Linked DNA regions of Homo sapiens: region 2 is linked to region 1. The links are contacts of gene promoters, found by promoter capture Hi-C in human tissues and cell types (Jung and others, 2019). All regions are on one chromosome and are shown on one strand. Each heading gives the region's core, a stretch centred on a gene start or on the middle of the fragment in contact. The rest is flanking DNA. Distances are from core to core; before and after follow the strand shown.

What was found. The method cuts DNA at HindIII sites, captures the fragments that hold promoters and counts their contacts. A contact is called where the count stands out against the background at its distance.
Region 2: a fragment that was not itself captured here is called in contact with the fragment with the promoter of HAPLN3 in region 1 in 2 of the 25 tissues and cell types used here (IMR-90 fibroblasts and psoas muscle).

The regions. Positions count from the first base shown.
Region 1 is chr15:88,893,539-88,897,310 of GRCh38, reverse strand. HAPLN3 (hyaluronan and proteoglycan link protein 3) reads left to right here and starts at 1,767. Exons shown (of 5, transcript NM_178232.4): 1 at 1,767-1,852. RefSeq lists an enhancer at 1,930-2,541. The HindIII fragment of the contact is 23,597 bases long and covers 1-3,772 here.
Region 2 is chr15:88,988,204-88,991,830 of GRCh38, reverse strand. It overlaps the pseudogene LOC100129942. Among named protein-coding and RNA genes, the nearest start is that of CARMAL, 51 kb to the left of the region's middle. The HindIII fragment of the contact is 3,911 bases long and covers 64-3,627 here.

The sequences.
Region 1 (3,772 bases), core at 518-3,017:
TCAGAGCTCTCTTCTGCGGAGCGGTGTGGATTGGGTTTAGAGCCAAGCCTTTCTGCGTGCTTCCAAGCCTCAGGTCTCCCTCCCGGGGGAGTTTCCTGCCCTGAACCCCTGTTCCAGCATACCCTGGGGATAAGCAGACAGTGGGAGAAGCATCTCTGCTCTGGGATGGGTTGGCCACAGCCTTCTAAAAGTCCCCCTCCTGGGACCCTGGAGTGGAGTCCCCTCACTCCTGACCCCCTCCTTCCTTCCTTGGCTTCTCTCCCTCAGCAGTGTCTTCCATTTGCCCAGCTTTTACCATCACCCCTACACATTGACTTTTTTCTGCCCCACTGCAAGGCAGAGGGTGAGCGTTCAGATTCCACCTGCTGGCTACCCCTACCCCTGGCTGGCATGTTCAACTCGACTTAACTGTAGCAAAATGTGCTCTCCCTACTGTCCATCCTCTCCCCTGTCGGGAACCTGCAGAGGGACCTACCTTGGCTCCCCTTTGCCCATCAAGCCTGGCGTTCCTTTTAGGTGTAGTTTACCTGTTGATCACAGTTCTTTGTGCTCCAATGTGCCCCTGGCTGTGTGTAACACACACACATGCACACACACACACACACTCATGGGCCAACTTGAGCTGTGTTTAGGAAGAGGCTCTGAGCTCTGTGACCCTGTGACCCTTCGACCCTTCCCCCAGCCAAAGCTGAAGGACCTCCTTAGTCTTTTCTGCTGAGGAAACATCGGGCTGTCCAGGCCAGGGCCCCCATTGGTCTGGACAGGAAAGAAAACACCCTGTCCAAACAGAGGCATCCTGAGCGGCTGCCTGGATGGCTGTGCTGATTAGCAGGATTCCGAAGGGAGGCCCACCCCTGTTGGAGGACCACTCAGAAGCCTGATTGCCCCTGCAGGCTGCAGAGGTATCCCACCCTGTGTCTCCCCTCCCAGCCAGGGCCACTCATTCAAGCCCCATGTGCTGGGGATAGCACCTGCTATGTGCCTGACAGTGAGTTGGGAATCTGGCCAGTGTTTCATGATGGCCAAACTCAGGGGCATGAGGACATCAGCAACCCCTTGCTTTTTTTTTTTTTTTTTTTTTGAGACGGAGTTTTGCTCTTGTTGCCCAGGCTGGAGCACAATGGCATGATCTCAGCTCACTGCAACCTCCGCCTCCTGGGTTCAAGCAATTCTCCTGCCTCAGCCTCCCAAGTAGCTGGGATTACAGGCATGCTCCACCACGCCCAGCTAATTTTGTATTTTTAGTAGGGACAGGGTTTCACCATGTTGCCCAGGCTGGTCTTGAACTCCTGACCTCAGGTGATCCACCGGCCTCCACCTCCCAAAGTGCTGGGGTTACAAGCATGAGCCACTCACTGCACCTGGCCTCACCCCCTTGCTTTCTATTTGGAAAAGAAAGTAATACAGAAGTCTCACCCCTTCCACAATCAAAGGTGGGGAGCAGCCTTAGCCCCTAGCAGAATGCTGGACAGGGGCTTCCCCTGCTTACTCCCACTGTTTTTGGTATACCAGGCTTTCTAAGGGGATCCCCCCTCCCCAAACTCTCCTATTCCACCCCTACTCTCCTTTCCCAAGACGTGAGGGCCTCAACTCTTGCACACCCTCTTTGCGGTGGTTCCCAGCGAGTCTGGAGACCGCTCAAGCCTGCAGCAGCTCCTCCCTTCGAGCCCAGCCCTTGGGAGGGAAAGGTGCGCGTGTTCCTTTAAGGGGCTGGTCTGGCGGGAGCGCGGGGGTTTTTCTGCTGCCGCTTCCTTTCTGCCCTTTTAATTTCCCCGAAATCAGACTGCTGCCTTGGACCGGGACAGCTCGCGGCCCCCGAGAGCTCTAGCCGTCGAGGAGCTGCCTGGGGACGGTACGTGGCTTAGGGGTCGCTGGGCTTCTGGGGCTGTGTGCGGGCCGGGTTCCTCCCTTACCGCTTTGGGTGCCCTGCGGGTCCCCACACCTCCCGGGCAGGGTCCGGGGAAGGGGCAGGAGGCGTGGGCCGGGCACTGCGGAGGCCCGGGCTGAGATGGGCTGTGATCGCGGGCGAGGGGCGCCCGGGGCACAAGTGGGGAGGGAGCGGCGCGGGGATGCGGGCGCCGGACCCTCGTGCCCACCGTGAGGGAGCAGAGCCCGAGCGGACCCCGTGGCCTCCGAGACCACCGTCCGCCTCCAGCCCCCTTCCTGCCAGGGTCCGCTTGGCTCTCTCCCCTGTCGTCTGTCCAGGGTCGGCTGCCTCCAGTGCCGTCCGCGGCGCCCCAGGCCCTGCCCCTGGGTATCTGTTGGATGCTCCGGGGGCCCCGGGAGTCCTGGGAGGGGCTGAGGGCAACCTGCGAGGCGGCTGGCGGACCTGCGCCTCTGGACCGCAGCTGGCCGGCTCTGGGCGCCTGGGGCAAAGGCAACTGATGCCTATGGGTTCCAGACCTCGCTCACCGGGGTTCTTGCCCCAGGGACAGCGAGGCCAGAAGGGTAGGGAGGGTGGAGGGCAGAGCCCTGGGTGGGAGATGGCGACCCTCAGGGAGAAACGTAGGCTTGTGCGCAGCCAGTATGGAAACAGCACGGCACTTGGACCCAGTCCTGCCACCAGCTCGTTGGCAGCCACAGGCCACAGGCAGCCTGTAAACCTGTTGGGACCTTGGTGTCCAGCGCTGACCCGCGGGAGTGCCTGTGCTCCCTGGAGTAGGGGGCAGCGATTGAGAGGGGCCCTGGCTTCTCTCCCTCGACGCCGCCCGGGCCAGCGGATTGGGAAACACCTCCGGTTTTCATTCTCCTGGGGGCTGCAGGTTTCAAAGGCGGAGATCAAGCCTTGTGCAAACAGGGACAGGGATGTCAAATTTCTCGCTGGGAGCAGCGCTCGTGCAGACCTCGCGGGCGATGCTGCCTCCTGCTGGTACCTGGGGGACTTGTACTCACGGAAGGCCCAGTGCGGACATGCACCTGGCAGGGAGGTGGCACCTACCCTCCCTCCAAGCCCAGGCTTATTGTTCTTGGGTGGAGGGGTCCCTAGGCTGGGGCGCCTGGGAAAAGCAAAGGGCTGGTCATCAGGAAACCTGAACTTTCTCTAAGTTCGAGATATTTGACAAAGATAACGCCTTGGGTAGTTCACTGACCTCCACTCTCTTGGCCTCAGTTTCCTCAACTGTGAAGAGGAGGCAGTGGTGACCACTTTGTCTCGTAGGCAGTGAGAGAGGAGAAAGAGCCACTGAGATGGTGTAAGACTTCACTGTGTGAACTGCTCACCAGAGTAGTAACAGGTCATATTTTCCCAGTGCTTGCTCCTTATCAAGCATCAAGCAGTATTTTCAGTGCTCTGCAGCTATTCTCTCCCTTAATCTTCACGAGAGTGTTTTCTGTTTGGTATTGTCGTGACCGCCCCCCCCACCCCAACTTTTTTTTTTTTTTTGAGATGGAGTCTCACTCTTCTTGCCCAGACTGGAGTGCAATGGCTCAATCTCGGCTCACTGCAACCTCCGCCTCCTGGGTTCAAGCGATTCTTCTGCTTCAGCCTCCCGAGTAGCTGGGACTACAAGCGCTCATCACCACACTCGGCTAATTTTTGTATTTTTAGTAGAGATGGGGTTTCACCGTGTTGGCCAGGCTAGTCTTGAACTCTTGACCTCAGGTGATCTGCCCACCTCAGCCTCCCAAAGTGCAGGGATAACAGGCATGAGGCACTGTGCCTGGCTTGTGACCCCCATTTTAAAGATGAAGAAACTGAGGCTCAGAGAGGTGCAGCGACTTGTCCAATGACAGAGGGTTAGTAAGTGGGTGGAGCCAGAACTGAATGCAGGCA
Region 2 (3,627 bases), core at 770-3,269, 94 kb before region 1:
CTCAAATTCCTGGGCTCAAGGAATCCTCCCACCTTAACCTCCCGAGCAGCTGGGACTACAGGCATGCCATACCCAGCTAGTATTTACATTTTTTGTAGAGAGAGTCTCCCTATGTTGCCCAGGCTGGTCTTGATCTCCCAGGCTAAAGCGATCCTCCTGTCTTGGCCTTCCAAAGTGCTGGGATTACAGGCGTGAGCCACCAAGCCCAGCTACAAGTTTTATTAATTTTACATACACATGAGGATCTTCACAAGAGAGTGAAGACCTAAGAAATGACCAAAGCAGAAAGCCTTTTGGACAAAGAATGATCAGTTTTATGAAGGCACTGGGAGAACAGGGGTGTGGGGGGGAGAATGGGCTGGAGCCATGGGAAGTTTGCGCCCTTTGCAGGGGAGAGGAACCTGGCCTCTCCTGTTCCTGGGTGGTAACCTGGGATTCAATCTGTGAGGCGGGAAGCCTGCTAGCAGGACTCTTGCTTTGCTAAGAATCCCTGTTCCCTTTTTTTTGTTGTTCCTTTTCACCCAATAAATCCTACCCTTCTCACCCTTCAAAGTGTCTGTGAGCCTGTCATGACTGTGAGAAAAGAACCCAGTTTTTTCCACAACACTAATGAGAGACCACTGGATGTGTAGACATAAATGACTGCAGCCATTATTCTGGAGGTCATGAGATATGCCAATTCCAGCCAGATACGGTGACTCACACCTGTAATCCCAGGACTTTGGGAGGCTAAGGCAGGAGGATCTCTTGACCCCAGGAGTTTGAGACTAGCCTGGGCAATATACTGAGACCTTGTCTCTATTTATTTAAAAAAAAATTATTTTACACAAAGATATGGGTTGGGCGCAGTGGCTCATGCCTGTAATCCCAACACTTTGGGAGGCTGAGACGAGAGGATCACTTGAGGTCAGGAGTTCCAGACCAGCCTGGCCAACATGGTGAAACCCCATCTCTACTAAAAATATAAAAATTAGCCAGGCATGGTAGCACACACCTGTAATCCCAGCTACTCGGGAGGCTGAGGTGGGAGAATGGCTTGAACCCGGGAGGCAGAGGTTGCAGTGAGCCGAGATAGTACCACTGCAGTCCAGCCTGGCAGCAGAGCAGAACAAAAAAAAAAAAAGAGAGAGAAGAAAAGAAAAAAAAGCTATGCAAATTTCCCAGTTATTCCTGCAGATAACATCATTATGACAGAACCTAAGATTGGCCTTTTGAGATGTCTTGTTGCATTTCTGACAACCGATGACTCCACGAGGACCGGCCAGCTGCTCCTGTGGCCCCACCCAGAAGCAACTCACTACACGAAGACCATTTTCCACACCCCTATGATTGCACCCCGAGCCAATCAGCAGCAAGCACCCATTGCCCAGCCACCCGCCCTTCCCCCAAACTGTCCTCGAAAAACCTCAGCCTCCAATTTTTGAGGAGGCTGATTTAAGTAATAATAAAACTCCGGGGGTGGTGCGCGGCGCCGAGCACCGCACGGAAAGGGGTAAGTCACGTGGCCACTGCCCCCGCCCCCGCCACAGTTTGTTGCTAGAAGGAAGATGGCGGGTCTGGAGGAGGAGCTGTCTGATGAAGAGAAGGGAAAAAGCAGCCCGTGCGTCTGCACAGTATAACTTGGAGCAGTTTACTCCTGTAAAAATGGAAGGTTATGAAGATCAGGTATTGATGACAAAACATGGCGACTTGGGAAATGGAAAGTTTTAGGATCCAAAGAACAGAATCTGTTTTAAATTTGATCACTTAAGAAAGGAGGCAACTGATCCAAGACCCTGTGAAGTAGAAAATGCAATTGAATCATGGAGAACTTAAGTAGAAACTACTCTGTGAGCTTACGTAAAAGAACATTACCCGAATGGAGTCTGCACTGCGTATAGCAAAAAAAAAAAATAGATGGACAGCAAACCACTATTGCATGCATAGAAAGCCATCAGTTCCAAGCAAAAAACTTTTGGAATGGTCATTGGAGGTCAGAATGGAGGTTTATAATCACTCCTTCAACCACTCAAGTGGTTGGCATCTTGAAAATTCAGGTTCATTATTATGAAGACAGTAATGTTCAGCTAGTGAGTCATAAAGATATACAAGATTCCCTAACAGTGTCTAATGAAGTGCAAACAGCAAAAGAATCTACAAAGATTGTAAAAGCTGCAGAAAATGAATACCAGACTGCCATTAGTGAGAATTATCAGACAATGTCGGACACTACTTTCAAAGCCTTACATCGACAATTGCTACTTACACGCACTAAGATTGATTGGAACAAGATCCTTAGCTACGAGGTTGGCAAAGAGATGCAGAATGCATAAGATGGACATTGCATGACCCCATCATTTTAGTGTCTTTGCGTTAAAAAACTATTGCAAAAGTATTCTGAACTGTCAAGCTGCCCAGTCTGATGGGCTGTTGCCATTTTAAATCACTGTAATTAGTTTGATTAGAGCACAAAGCTTAGCTAATCCACCATTATTTTTCATTTTGTTCTAAGAGGATTGAAAATCAGTTTAGTTTAAATGTCTTACTTTCTGTTAGTCCTTTCTTTCGTACAATGAAGAGATGATTCTCTAGTTTATGGTTAAAAGTTTTTGAAGTGTTTCAAAAATATTTTACTTACTGTAACCCTAAAATTGTTATCTTTTGGTTTATGAAATGGTTAATTTTTGATATTTCCCCAGTTAGTGTTTGATGGATTTAGCCATATAGGCTGCTAAAGAAATTGTCTACCTTTTCTTCCTCACCTGTTCCATTTATGTAAGGTTGAGATTAGAGGGAAAACATTTTCTATATCAATTGTGTTTTTAAACCTTTCAAGAAGGTTATTTAGCTTAGTATTTAACTTAATTTTTTTTAAACAAGGCAAGGTCTAATGCTGTTTTGAGATTCTGAAATTAAATGAAAATACTTATTTCAGAAATGCATTTAATGCTTTTTTTCTTGTGACAGTTACGCAAATCAGCTTGAATTCCATATGTCCCTGAGTTATTTTTATCATAAAGCCACAAATGTATTATAACAAGGCAAATTGTAATATATATAATCCTGAACTCAAAAAGAAAAAAGAAAAAAAACTCCGATCTTCTGTGTAGCCGGCCCTACGTCTATAAAATTCTTTCTCTATTGCAATTCCCCTGCCTTGATAAATCTACTCTATCTAAGCAGCAGGCAAGAAGAACCCATGGGGAGGTGACAAAAGGGTGGCTCAGAAGGTCCTATCTTATCTACAACTGCTGCTTCTCAGATGCTTTCGGCTTGAAATAATCAATATGCCAGGTCAGGGTATTTTGGGGTGTTATGTCCTTAACTCCTTTGGTCCAAAGAGTTGATTTTACTAATCATTCTCCTTGTGTGTATTTGAAAATTGCCTTCAAAACAAAACCCATGCCTTAACCACTGTGTGGTCCCAACTTAGCAGGTTACTGTAGGTTTCTGAGATGGGTGGGGGAAGGGAAAGGAGGGGGAGGGTTGAACTTGGGTTAGCCAAATTCCTCAAACGTTTGTAGCTGTAGAACCCCTTTTGTTTTATTTGAAGCATTTTTAAGAGACTAGTAATCGAAGACCTTTCTTTGGGAAGCTGATGTCTCACTCCCTGGGAGGATGCTCAGCCTTGCCTGGCCTGGTGCCCTC